Linked DNA regions of Homo sapiens: all the other regions are linked to region 2. The links are contacts of gene promoters, found by promoter capture Hi-C in blood cells and fetal thymus (Javierre and others, 2016). All regions are on one chromosome and are shown on one strand. The core of a region is centred on a gene start or on the middle of the fragment in contact, and the rest is flanking DNA. Distances in the headings are between cores, read along the strand shown. Region 1 holds the start of PLK1 (polo like kinase 1). Region 2 holds the start of CACNG3 (calcium voltage-gated channel auxiliary subunit gamma 3). Region 3 overlaps ERN2 (endoplasmic reticulum to nucleus signaling 2).

Evidence for each region. Contacts are between HindIII fragments. The CHiCAGO score rates a contact against its expected background, and 5 or more counts as called.
Region 1: a contact is called between the fragment with the promoter of PLK1 here and the fragment with the promoter of CACNG3 in region 2, in 9 of 17 cell types (naive CD8 T cells, total B cells, megakaryocytes and 6 more). The highest score is 11.3, in naive CD8 T cells.
Region 3: a contact is called between a fragment that was not itself captured here and the fragment with the promoter of CACNG3 in region 2, in 1 of 17 cell types (total B cells). The highest score is 5.1, in total B cells.

What each region holds. Positions count from the first base shown.
Region 1 is chr16:23,677,477-23,681,369 of GRCh38, forward strand. PLK1 (polo like kinase 1) reads left to right here and starts at 1,413. Exons shown (of 10, transcript NM_005030.6): 1 at 1,413-1,864; 2 at 2,608-2,776; 3 at 3,438-3,582. The coding sequence starts at 1,457. The HindIII fragment of the contact is 1,938 bases long and covers 1,079-3,016 here.
Region 2 is chr16:24,253,924-24,257,834 of GRCh38, forward strand. CACNG3 (calcium voltage-gated channel auxiliary subunit gamma 3) reads left to right here and starts at 2,412. Exons shown (of 4, transcript NM_006539.4): 1 at 2,412-3,042. The coding sequence starts at 2,832. RefSeq lists an enhancer at 2,160-2,887. The HindIII fragment of the contact is 7,529 bases long and covers 1-3,245 here.
Region 3 is chr16:23,701,722-23,706,198 of GRCh38, forward strand. It overlaps ERN2 (endoplasmic reticulum to nucleus signaling 2), which reads right to left. Exons shown (of 22, transcript NM_033266.4): 8 at 3,162-3,426; 9 at 903-981; 10 at 669-816; 11 at 431-552. Among named protein-coding and RNA genes, the nearest start is that of ERN2, 9.3 kb to the right of the region's middle. RefSeq lists an enhancer at 3,261-3,761. The HindIII fragment of the contact is 623 bases long and covers 2,106-2,728 here.

The DNA of each region.
Region 1 (3,893 bases), core at 163-2,662, 580 kb before region 2:
ATTTTTCAAAGTCTTCCTTTTATTCAGCCAACATTTTAGTAAGTACCCTTTTTTTTTTACCAAGCACTGCTCTGGGAGCTTGGGACATGGGGTAGAAAGGACGGCATCATTGTCCTCATTGTCCTTCAGCTTAGCTGCAAGGCAGGTGAAGGATGCTTATAGTATGGTTGATTTTTGCTGGGCTCTATGAAGGATCAGAGGGTGCTAAGGAGGCACAGAGAAAGAGCTTTTAACGTGGGTATTTTACTGTTCCAGGGTTGCCACTCAAGTACCTACAGAACAAACGGGTGTAGCTGTAAACTGTGGCAAACTGAAAGCATGTAGGCACAGAGTAAGTAGCTAGAGCTGATTTTTTTCAGGAAAGGCCACAAATCCCAACTTTTATGAGCTCCTCTTTTAAATGCTGTAAATGTTTTACAATGGCGGGGCGCGGTGGCTCACGCCTGTAATCCCAGCATTTGGGAGGCCGAGGGGCAGATCACTTGAGGTCAGGAGTTCAAGACCAGCCTGGCCAACATGGTGAAACCTCTTCTCTACTAAAATTACAAAAATTAGCCGGGCATGGTGGTGCATGCTTGTAATTCCAGCTGCTAGGGAGGCCGAGGCGGGAGGATTGCTTGAACCCGGGAAGCAGAGGTTGCAGTGAGCTGAGATCGTGCCACTGCACTCCAGCCTGGGCGACAGAGCAAGATTCCGTCACACACACAAAAAAAAGGCGTGGGGGGAGGCCAAACAAAACCCCGCAAGACACATTTGGCTATGACCTGCCAGTTTGCTAGGCATTCTTCCAACCTTCCCTCCCTCTGACCAAGAAACTGAGTGTCCACTATTTTAGGCCCTGGGAAATTCAGTAGCGAGGAGGCCAGACAGCTTCGTTGCATCATGGGGGGCTCTGGTACTGTGCTTCTCCAACTTCAGGATGTGTAGGAATCACCTGAGCAGTCTTGTTGAGAGGCGGACACTGACTCGGGAGGTCTGGGGTAGGGCCTGAACGTTTGCCTTTGCGGTTCTAACAAGCTCTCAGGTGATGGCGATGCTACTGTTCCCTGGCCCCGAGGTAGAGGAAGATTTAAGTAAAAGCTTCCTGGAGGAGGCGCAAGTGAACCGCAGGAGCTTTCCCGGACGCCCGAGAAAGGGAGAAACCCCGAAGGAATTCCTCCTCTCTCGGGGCTGGGTCTCCGCATCCACGCCGGGTTTGGTTTCCCAGGCTATCCCACGTGTTCGGGCGTCCGTGTCAATCAGGTTTTCCCCGGCTGGGTCCGGGTTTAAAGGCTGCTGCTGCGCAGGGCGCTCCCATGGTGCCGCGCGGCGGGCGGGTTTGGATTTTAAATCCCCGCGGCCAATCAGTGGCGCGCAGGCTTTTGTAACGTTCCCAGCGCCGCGTTTGAATTCGGGGAGGAGCGGAGCGGTGCGGAGGCTCTGCTCGGATCGAGGTCTGCAGCGCAGCTTCGGGAGCATGAGTGCTGCAGTGACTGCAGGGAAGCTGGCACGGGCACCGGCCGACCCTGGGAAAGCCGGGGTCCCCGGAGTTGCAGCTCCCGGAGCTCCGGCGGCGGCTCCACCGGCGAAAGAGATCCCGGAGGTCCTAGTGGACCCACGCAGCCGGCGGCGCTATGTGCGGGGCCGCTTTTTGGGCAAGGGCGGCTTTGCCAAGTGCTTCGAGATCTCGGACGCGGACACCAAGGAGGTGTTCGCGGGCAAGATTGTGCCTAAGTCTCTGCTGCTCAAGCCGCACCAGAGGGAGAAGATGTCCATGGAAATATCCATTCACCGCAGCCTCGCCCACCAGCACGTCGTAGGATTCCACGGCTTTTTCGAGGACAACGACTTCGTGTTCGTGGTGTTGGAGCTCTGCCGCCGGAGGGTGAGTGTCGCTGCTGGGGAACTGGAACTGCCTGCGGGGCAGTTGGAGCGCCCAGACCTGGAGCTGCTGGAAAGAGTACCCAGCAAGGGAGAGCCTGGGACTTGGAGCTGCTAGAGAAGGGTGCTGGGAGCCTCCCGCTTACGTATGGAAAGTGTCTTTGGTAAGGGCTTCTTGGCTCTGGGAGCTGCTAGAGGAGGGGGTTCCAGTGAAGTGGAGTCTGAGTCATGTTGCTGATAGGGAAGTCAGCTTCTGGACGCGAGGTGCTGGGGGGAGGGGTGCTGGTAATGGACGCTAGGGCCCTGGAGTACCCAGGGAGGAGTCCCAGGTTAGTGATGCCGCGCCCTGGGAGCTTCTGGGGTGGAGCTGGGTCAGTGGGGGGGTAGTTGGAGCCAGACTTCGGGCCTTCCGGGGGAGATACGAGTCAGGAAAGGGATCTGGTGCTGGGGACTCGGAGCTTCCGGAGTGGGGCTGAGAGAGGACCCCCAGGTAAGGGGGGAAGCTAGTAGGAGAAGGGGTGCTGCGAATGGTTGTGGACAGTGTTAAGGCAGGGTCCAGATGCCGCTGTGCTGGAGAAGGAATGGGGTGGGGGCATAGGGAAGGAGAGAAACCCACCAAGACCCCTCTTTCATCCCTTGGGAGTCCAGAGTCCAGTCCTGTGCTTCCTTTGCCTGGTAACCCTCTCCCTTCCCCACCGGCCTCAATCCACCTCCCCATCCCTCCTGCCCTCTCCTTCCCACCCACAGTCTCTCCTGGAGCTGCACAAGAGGAGGAAAGCCCTGACTGAGCCTGAGGCCCGATACTACCTACGGCAAATTGTGCTTGGCTGCCAGTACCTGCACCGAAACCGAGTTATTCATCGAGACCTCAAGCTGGGCAACCTTTTCCTGAATGAAGATCTGGAGGTGAAAATAGGTGAGTTGCTGAGCCTGCAGGGGTGCTTGACATCACTACAAGAGGCTGGAATTTGGAGGAGGCTGGGAGAAAGGAAGGAGACAACCCACAAGTCAGTATCTTGCCTACAGATGCATTATTTTTTTGTGCCCCAATGCAATATTTTTTTTTTACAAAGAATTTGAATTTGTTTTTATTTTTTAAATTGGAAGGTTTGATTGAACAAAAAGTTTGATTCAGAACTCCTTTTAAACAGGTGAAAGCTTCAGTAATACGAGGACAGCATTTTCTTAGGGCAGCCCTTTGCTGGGCTGGAAAACAGCTGTCCCCTTCAGACTTCTTTGCCACAGTCTCTACTCCTCCCTATTCTTCACAGACTTGCCAAGTCTTGGAGGTTAACTTGCTTGATCCTTGAAGGCATTGGAGTTTTACTATCCCTGTCAGTTCCTGTTTCAAAGCATAGCCCCTTTCTAAAAGGAGGGGTGAGAAGTGTCACTGGAGGCACCTCCCTGGTGTCAGCATGGGAGGAAGATTCCTGGGCAAGCCTTGCTACATACAAGGAGCAGAGGCTTGTGGGATCAGATGGCCCTGGTTCTGGATGGTCAAACCTTAACTAGCCTTCTGCATTGACAGATGTCAGAGGCTGGCATCTAAGTACCAACTCTTCCTCCCTCTGTCCCAGGGGATTTTGGACTGGCAACCAAAGTCGAATATGACGGGGAGAGGAAGAAGACCCTGTGTGGGACTCCTAATTACATAGCTCCCGAGGTGCTGAGCAAGAAAGGGCACAGTTTCGAGGTGGATGTGTGGTCCATTGGGTGTATCATGTAAGTTGGGAGTTGTCTCTGGACCAACCTGGTCTCAGCAGGGGCAACTTTGGGACATCCTACCTGGCTGACCTTTTCTGTGGACCTTTCGGCCTGCTTTACAGAAAGCCTACTCCAAGGGACAAGTCATCCCCAAACAAAGCCTAATTGTCATATCTTTCCCTGTCACTGGTGTATCCTGTCGGATTTCTGCAGCCTAGGTCATGGGTACAGCGGAGGAGGAGGAGGGAGAGTCTCCACAACCTTACTGTAGTCCTTTGCTAGAGTTGTCCACAGGGCAGCATCACCATCATCTGGGAACTTGTATACAC
Region 2 (3,911 bases), core at 1,162-3,661:
CTGAAATGACTGCTTTGATCATTAGTAATTATTTCATCTTATTTACCTTTCTGAGAGTGGGGAGAGAAATTTTTGCTAACTGAATTAATCCCTCCCAAGAAATACCAACCTCACCTCCATGTTACATATGGCTTTCCCTTAAAAAAGAAAGGTAATAACAATCAAGGCAGGATATTTTTATTAAGATGCAAATTTTCATTTCAGGAAAGAAAATGACACTAAGAAACTTGTAGGGGCCCTCGTGTATCCTCTCCCTACTATCTTCTGTCATTCTTCTGGAGTACGGCTGTGGTGCTGGCCCCAAGTTTATCCATTCCATTGTGGATTATGTGGCAAGATTTCAGTATTTCTACCTCCTGTCCATAAATCAGTGTTTTTGAACCACGACACATGCATATGCAACTAAATGCTCATAGGTATACACACCTACATATTCAAATCTATACTATACCTACACACGTGCATGCATACACATACATGTGCAAATATGTATGCATATGCATAGCAAAAATGCTAGGCATTTGCAGCAAATATGTTCACATGGTCCATAACACTGTCTGCAGGTACAAACATACATTTACATACTTGCTTTACTTCTATGACGGATTCACAGGCATTCAGAATTTATAACTAAACTGAACATAGCACAGGTGAGCATTCAAACACAATCACTCCACAGCTATATATTCAAACTTCCTCCTGCACATGAGTATTTATCTAACACCAAGAATAAAGTCTTCAGTCTTAACACCAAAATGAAAGTAGCAAAGTCACCAAGAAGTTGTGAGCTGCATTTGCGAACCCTTCAATATATTCCTGCTACCCAGTCACCTGAATAGAAGTTCCCAGGCAGCCAGAGATGGCACCAGGGGAGTATGTTTGTCTGCGATTACCTCCCGTTATATTTCTGTCCAGCTAAATAACATTCAAACATGACAGTTGGTTGCGGACACATCTCAGGAACTGTGGAAACAACCCAAGCAACCTCATTTCCAACTATCTGACCTCTGGATATCAGTCCCAGGATGCCATAAGAAAAAAAATAATAAGGGCATTTCTGTGGGCTGTTTCTAGTCAACTCGGTGTGTGCCCATGCATATGCCGGAATACATAGTAATAAAAAGCTGGTTAAATGCTGGTCCTTTGCAATACTGGCTATTTCCAAGGAAGAGAGCTTTCAGGTGTGCAATGCCATTTGCCCTTTGGACTAACAAGCAAAGCAGACCTAACTTCACCTGCTTCATGGTCTCACTTAGATAACAATGTTAACAAATGATATCTCAGAGACCTTTGAACAAAATCTGACATTTTCAGTGACTCTCCCACCATGAATCCATCACCCCCTTCGATGTAGATATGTTAAAATGTATAAAAGGCATATTCAAAGGCCAAAATCTTATAGTCTTTTGCCCAAGGTCCCTAATATGTGTATGACAGAGTCTATGTATATTTAGCTTCTTCCATCTTTTAGGAATACATGATCATGTATATATGAACAGTTCCGGGTCTGATCTGAGCGGGTTGTCTTCGGTGTAAACCAGAGCTCCAGAGAAAGGAGGGTAGACATATTGGTTTGTTTGCTGGGGAACCAAATTGAGACAGACTCTACACAGATGTGATTGTGACAACACTTTTTGCCCGCCTAAGCGAGCCATAGAGCCGTCTCCAGAGCTGCCGGTGCCTTTAAGAAGACTCGGTCTTTCGGGTCTTCTTTTTCCCCAATGGGCTCCAGTGGTGCCCGCAGCAAAAGGCAAACTTGCCTGGCTCATGGGGTGAAAGGGAGGATTGAAGAATGCCGCGTTGGGTGGGTGCTGAGGGAGCGCCAGAGTGCGCTACGGGCTTCGCTCCCCTTCCCCTTTCCTTAACCCTTCCTAGAGCGGAGGAACCGGGTCGTGCTGCAGCGCCCAGGAGCCAGGGCGCTGACTGTCCTCGGCTCCAGAAACTTTGCGCGGAGAGTGGGCTTGACTGGGCAGAGCCGAGCCGGCTGGCTGACCCGGGAAGGAACGGGGGAAGGGCGGGGTGAGGGAAGAAAGACCCTTTAGCACCCCGGGTTTCTAGCCCGGGCGGCGGTGTGCAGCTGCATGAGGGAGCTGTCCCTTCGGCACCACGGACCTTAAAGCCTAGGCGTTAAGACGACGGAGGCGGGGCAACAGGCGGGGAGCTGTCCCTTCAGCACCACGGACCTTGGCGCCCCCAGGGAAACCAGCCGGCCCCCGCCCCAGGACTCTGTCTTTTCTCCAGTTTGAGCGGGGGTGTCGGGAGCAGGCGGAGAGCTTTCCTGCGAGGCTGTGGAAGCAGTGAACACTCTTCTCAGCGGCTCGCCTCCCAGCAGTGCTATTTTTTGCCATCCGCCCTCACCCCCAGCACACGCGCTCGCACACACACGCACGCACGCACACACACACACACACACACTCACACAGAGACCTCTCTGGGTTTCTTTGCCTTGAGTCTCCCGGGGCTGTGAGAAGCCAGGCGCATCTCAAACCGAGCTGGCAGCTCCAGGCTCCGGAGCCATGCCCTGCACGGACCCTCGTCTTTACCACGCTCCTGAGGAATGAAAGGAACCCAGGGACCCTCAGAAGGCAGCAGTGATGCGGACCAACCCCCCGGAGCCTGCACCCTTCCGAGGGCCATAGGCGACCCAGGGAACTGGAGAGAGCTCCAGAAAGGAAATCCCAGCTTTCCCAAAGTCCCTGTGGATGCTGACAAAAGGAGACCTGAATTTTTGGAAGAGCCTGTACTAGGTTACCCGGCTGCAGAGTGATTTTCCCCTCCGGCACTGACTCTCCCCCTCCAACCCCCAGCCGTCCAGAGTACCATGAAGAATTATGAGGATGTGTGACAGAGGTATCCAGATGTTGATCACCACTGTAGGAGCCTTTGCCGCTTTTAGTTTAATGACCATTGCAGTGGGCACGGACTACTGGTTATATTCCAGAGGTGTGTGCAGGACTAAATCTACAAGTGATAATGAAACCAGCAGGAAGAATGAAGAAGTAATGACCCATTCGGGGCTGTGGAGGACCTGCTGCCTAGAAGGTATTTACAATTTCCTCTCAATAGCTCTGAATAATCCAGTTCTGATATTCTGGTGGGTGTTTGGAGGAGATGGAAATGGTGATAAGGAAAGAAGAGAAGTTCAAATTATTGCTGAGAATGTGCAGGTGCCCAGACTCTGTTAACAGCAAGACTGACGCCATGTGGGTTAAAGGGGTTGGGTCTTGTTGATTGTTTTTAGTATAAGCTTCATGAGATGAGATTTTTGTCACACTCTAGGCAGCTTCTGCAGTTTAGAAAAGTCTTCAAATCCAAAATCCCTAGGCATATTGTCAACTGCTTGGATCTCTGGCTTGAGATGGGGTCTTTAACCCTGCTTAAATTGGATTTCGAAGGGAGGGGGAGGGAAGGGAGGAGAAGGGACAAGAGGAAAGAAGTGAGGGGGGAGAGAGAGAGAGAGAGAGAGAGAGAGAGAGAGAGAGAGAGAGAGAGAGAGAGAGAGAGATCCTGACCCGGTCTGGCACATTCTGAGCTATTTCATTATTTCTCAACATAGACTTATCAGTTTCTCCTGAGTTTGCTCTAACTAGATATTGTCATGAACTTCCACTGCCAATCAGTAACAGGGTAACATATGTAAACCCCTACTCCCACCCACACCCTATGCACACATTTTAAGAAAAAATCCTTATTGATACATGTTTTATTAGTTTGGATCACAACAAAACTGAAGTCTTGGTATTTTGTATCCACCTGTCTTCATTCCTAAATCATTCCCAAACCCCTAAAAAGGTATTTCCATGACATTTACAAAAGACTGATTCTCCAAGAATTGCAGTTCGTCATTTCTAGTTCTAAAAATTAGGGAGTAGTTATAACTTATAATGAAGAAGAAAGAGCAATTTAAAAAT
Region 3 (4,477 bases), core at 1,167-3,666, 550 kb before region 2:
TGGGCTCGAGCAATCCTCCCACGTCAGCCTCCTGAGTAGCTGGGACTACAGATGCACACAACCATTCCCCACTAATTTTTTATTTTTATTTTTTTGTAGAGATGGGGTCTTGTTATATTACCCAGGCTGGTCTCAAACTCCTGACCTCAAGCCATCCATCCTCCCACATTGACCTCCCAAAGTGCTGAGAATATAAGCATGAATCACCTGCCCAGCCACTTTTTAACACTTCTAACGTGTTTCTGGCAGTAACAACAACAACAACAACAACAAGTTGTGTTGTTCCCAACAAAAAGTCTGGGAAATTGTGTGAGGTCAATTGACCCACCCCCGAGTGTTATTCTTAGCAGCCCGAGGAAAAGATCCAAGGGCTATTCCCCCCATCTGCTGGGGCCTCCCTACCCCCACTCTCTCCCCTCCCAGCACTGACCTCCAAGAAGAAGGCTGGGGCCTGGGTATTCTCTGGAGGTCTTGTCTCTGCAGTTCCACTCCCCAGGGTGGGATGGACCCTCAGCATGGTGGTGTGCAGGACTGGGGGTAGCTCGTGGTGTCCTAAGGTGGGGGGCAAAAGTCATCAGGCTGAAGGGGACCTTAGCTTTCCAGCTCAGAAGCTGGGCTCACAGGTTCTTTATCTTCATCTACTCCCAATTTGAGCCAGAGGATCTCACCAATGAGCAGCCACTGGCTTGGGAGGGCCACACTGCCTGAGGGGTATCTAACAGCAGTGCTGGGTGAGCCCTCTCGCTCTCCTGAGACTTGGAGTGTCACCTCATCTGTGGTGGGGCCATCTGCGGGGGCCAGGGTCAGTCCACGAGGCTATGGCAGAAGATGGAGAGCCATGAGTGAGGGAGGTTCTTCTCCCGTTCATCCTCTTTCCAGCCCACTCAGAGACCACTTCTTACCACCAGGGCCACTCCTGTGTGGACCAGTGCTTTAGAGACATAGAAGCCAGTTTCATCCTTCCCCACATACAGCGTCATTCTAGTGGGAGAGAAGAAAAAGAAGAGAAGAATGAATGCTGGTGATGGGTAGTTTCAGTTATCAAGGTACTCATGCCCTTGTATATTTCCCTCTCACATTGACTCAGCTTAGCCATGAGACTTGCTTTAATCAATTAGACAACAGCAAATGTGACATAAGTAGAGGCTTGAAAAGTGCTTGTGCCTTCAGGCTTCCTTATGCATTTTTCTTTAGACCCTGAGACCACCGTGGGAGAAAACCCAGGCTAGCCTGCTGGGGTGTGAGAGATCTCTTTAATCCCCCATAGGTCAAACAGTCCATCAACTATGAGATAGGTAAGTGAGGCCATCCTAGATTCTCCAGACTCAACCAAGCCATGAGCAGACTGCAGAAAAACAACCCACCCCAGCTGACCCACAGAATCTTGAAAAATAATAAACTGTTGTTTTTTAAGTTCTCTGTTTTGGGGCAATTTGTTATGCAGCTAAAGCTAGCTGATACATGTTCCATAGTCATGATTTCAAATCTATGTCTAACCCAGACCTCTTTCAAGAGCTCAATTTTCTAAATATAAACTCATTACATCGTCCTTTACTTCTTCCTCCTTCTTCTCCCCCACCTCCTCTAGTGTTCCCTGCCTCTGAAAATGACAGTACCCACGTGCTTCTAGAAACCTGAGCATGATCTTTGACTCCTTGCTCACAATCGTCAAACTCCCTAATCACCAAATTTTTACTAGTTCTTCCTTCTAATATATCTTACACTCCACCTATTTTCCTCTCTCTAGTTTCTGCTCTAGTATAAAGTATCTTCATTTCTTGCCTGAACAAATCAATATTCCATGAATGGTCCACTTCTTTCCATATACCATTCTAAGATATTCTTTCTAAAATGAAAATATGATTAAATCACTTCCTTCCTTAAAACTCTCCAGTGACTTTTTAACTTTAGGAGAAAATGTCCAAGCCCTTTAAATGATCCTACAAGATCTCTTCTTAGCTTATAATCTCAGGCTCTACTCCTTTCTCAGGTCTGTATTTCAGTCTTATTTAATTTTTTCCTGTTACCTGAATTCTATGCTCTCTCATCTCTCTCATTTCCTATTCATTTTTTAGGTTTCAGTTTAGATGTTCCTTCCTCTAGGAAGCTTTCCATGACTGCCTCCTGTCCCCAGTCTTGATGTGGGTACTCTTCCTATACATTCCCATGGCATCTTATACTACTTTCATCTCATCCTTTATCATATCAGGTTGCAATAGTCTCTTCACATATCTGTCTCTCCCATTAGACTCGGGTTCCTGAGGCAGGAACAATGGCTGGGTTATTTGCTATTGTACTCCCAGACTCTAGTGAGACTGGCACACAGTAAGTGCTCAATTAATATTTGCAGAATGAATTGAATGAATAGATGATCCCTGATTTTCCCAAGCTGTCTACTGGTTTATCAAGATGGGGACACTAAGGTATTAGATGCAATAATACCTTAAATAAGTTGTTAAATAAGGTAAGTTAAATAAGGTTGTTATTTAAAGTATTTAACAATCCATAAGGCACAGCACCTACCAACCAGAACAGGTTAAGACCTGGAGTCCCCCTCTGATATGGTTTGGCTGTGTCCCCACCAAAATCTCATCTTGAATTTCCATGGGTTGTGGTAGGGACCCGGTGGGAGGTAATTGAATCATGAGGTCTTTCCCATGCTGTTCTTGTGATAGTGAATAAGTCTCACAAGATCTGATGGTTTTATAAGGGGGAGTTTCCCTGCACAAGCTTCTCTCTTTGCCTGCCGCCATCCACGTAAGATGTGACTTGTTCCTGCTTGCTTTCTGCCATGATTGTGAGGCTTCCCCAGCCACGTGGAACTGAAAGTCCAATTAAACCTCTTTCTTTTGTAAATTGCCGAGTCTTGGGTATGTCTTTATCAGCAGCATGAAACAGACTAATACACCCTCCTAGGCCAGATCTTACCGTATGAGTTGCTGAACAGTGGGGGCTACCCAGGGGGTCCCGGGGACACTTGGAGGGCAGCAGAGGACACTGGTTATTTACCAACCAGTTGGGTAAGTAACCAATTTGAAATGTTTTGACCCCTGGTTCAGCGGTACTGGTGTGTCACAGCTGAACATCTCGCCTGGCCATCAGACCCAGGTTGCGACACTCCCAGATGGCTCCCTCCCTGGGCCCCAGGCACGAACACCTACAGCAGCTGGGTGTCCAAGGTAGAGAAGAGGGTGGCTGTGTCCCGGGGGCCTGAGGCAGGCAGTCGGATGTGGCCCCAGCGGAGGGCGAGGAAATGCAGAGTGTCTCGAGCCAGCGTGAGATGCGGCAGCTGGCGCAGGCCGTCCTGGTGCCAGGTGTAGACGCCCATCACAGGCACGCCCAGGTCCTGTGTCCACAGCACCGTCCCGCTTCCTGGGTCCACAGTGAGCAGCAGGCCCATCCCGCAGGACGCCAGGTGGCTCATGTCTGCCGAGAAAGGTGGCTGGGGAGATGTGGTTGGAAGCTCTCCTAAGAGGGTCCAAGGGTGTGCCCTCTGGGTGAGGGGTCAGTCTGGTGTGTGGAGATCACATGGAGGGTTATCTGGACATGAGAATGTTTGTTGGAGTTCATGGAGTCACTTTGAAAACGAGGCCATCAGTCAGGGTCATTCAAAGGTGACTCAGATGTGTGGGAGTCAGTTTGGGTCACTTAGGATGGTGGGGTATTGCTCATGGTCAACATATGGTCACCTGGGATGGATCAATCAGGGTGGCCTGGAGGCATTTGGGTCACTTGGGAGTCACTTACAGTGTGAGAGGGGTCAGTTGGGGCGAGTAGGTGACCTCACCTCTGCTGAGGTGACCTGTGTAGGGTCTCATGCAGAATGATGGAATCAGGGCTTGAGGGGGCCTTGGGGCACCTGTAAGGTCACTCAGGCAGTTGGGTATCAGTCATAATATCAAGGGGGTGGGCCAGGTGTGGTGGCTTATGCTCGTAATCCCAGCACTTTGGGAAGCCAAGACAGGAGGATTACTTAAGCCCAGGAGTTTGAGACCAGCCTGGGCAACATAGCAAGACCCCATCTCTACACAAAAATTAAAAGATGAGCCAGGCTTGGTGGTACACATCTGCAGTCCCAGCTATTCAGGAGGCTGAGGATAGGGGATCACTTCAGCCCAGGAGTTGGAGGCTACGGTAAGCTGTGATCACAGTACTGCACTCCAGCCTGGGTGACAGAGTGAGACCCCATCTCACAAAAAATGGTGGGGAGTGGTCGGGGTCACCTGGGGAGTCGGTCTATGGAAGAGGCTACTTAGGGTTAGCTTTCAGGGGTTATATATAGGGGTCAGTTAGGACACACAGAGATTGCTTAGGGGCTGTTTGGGGTCACTCTGGATGTGGGAAGTCATCCAGGGTTACCCGGTTGGGGCCACTTGGAGTATAGAAGAGTTAGGAGGTTGAGGGATTGGCCAGGGTTCAGGAGGGTCAGTCTGGGTGTTGAGGGAGTCACTTGGGGTCAGCCATCAGGGGTGTGCCA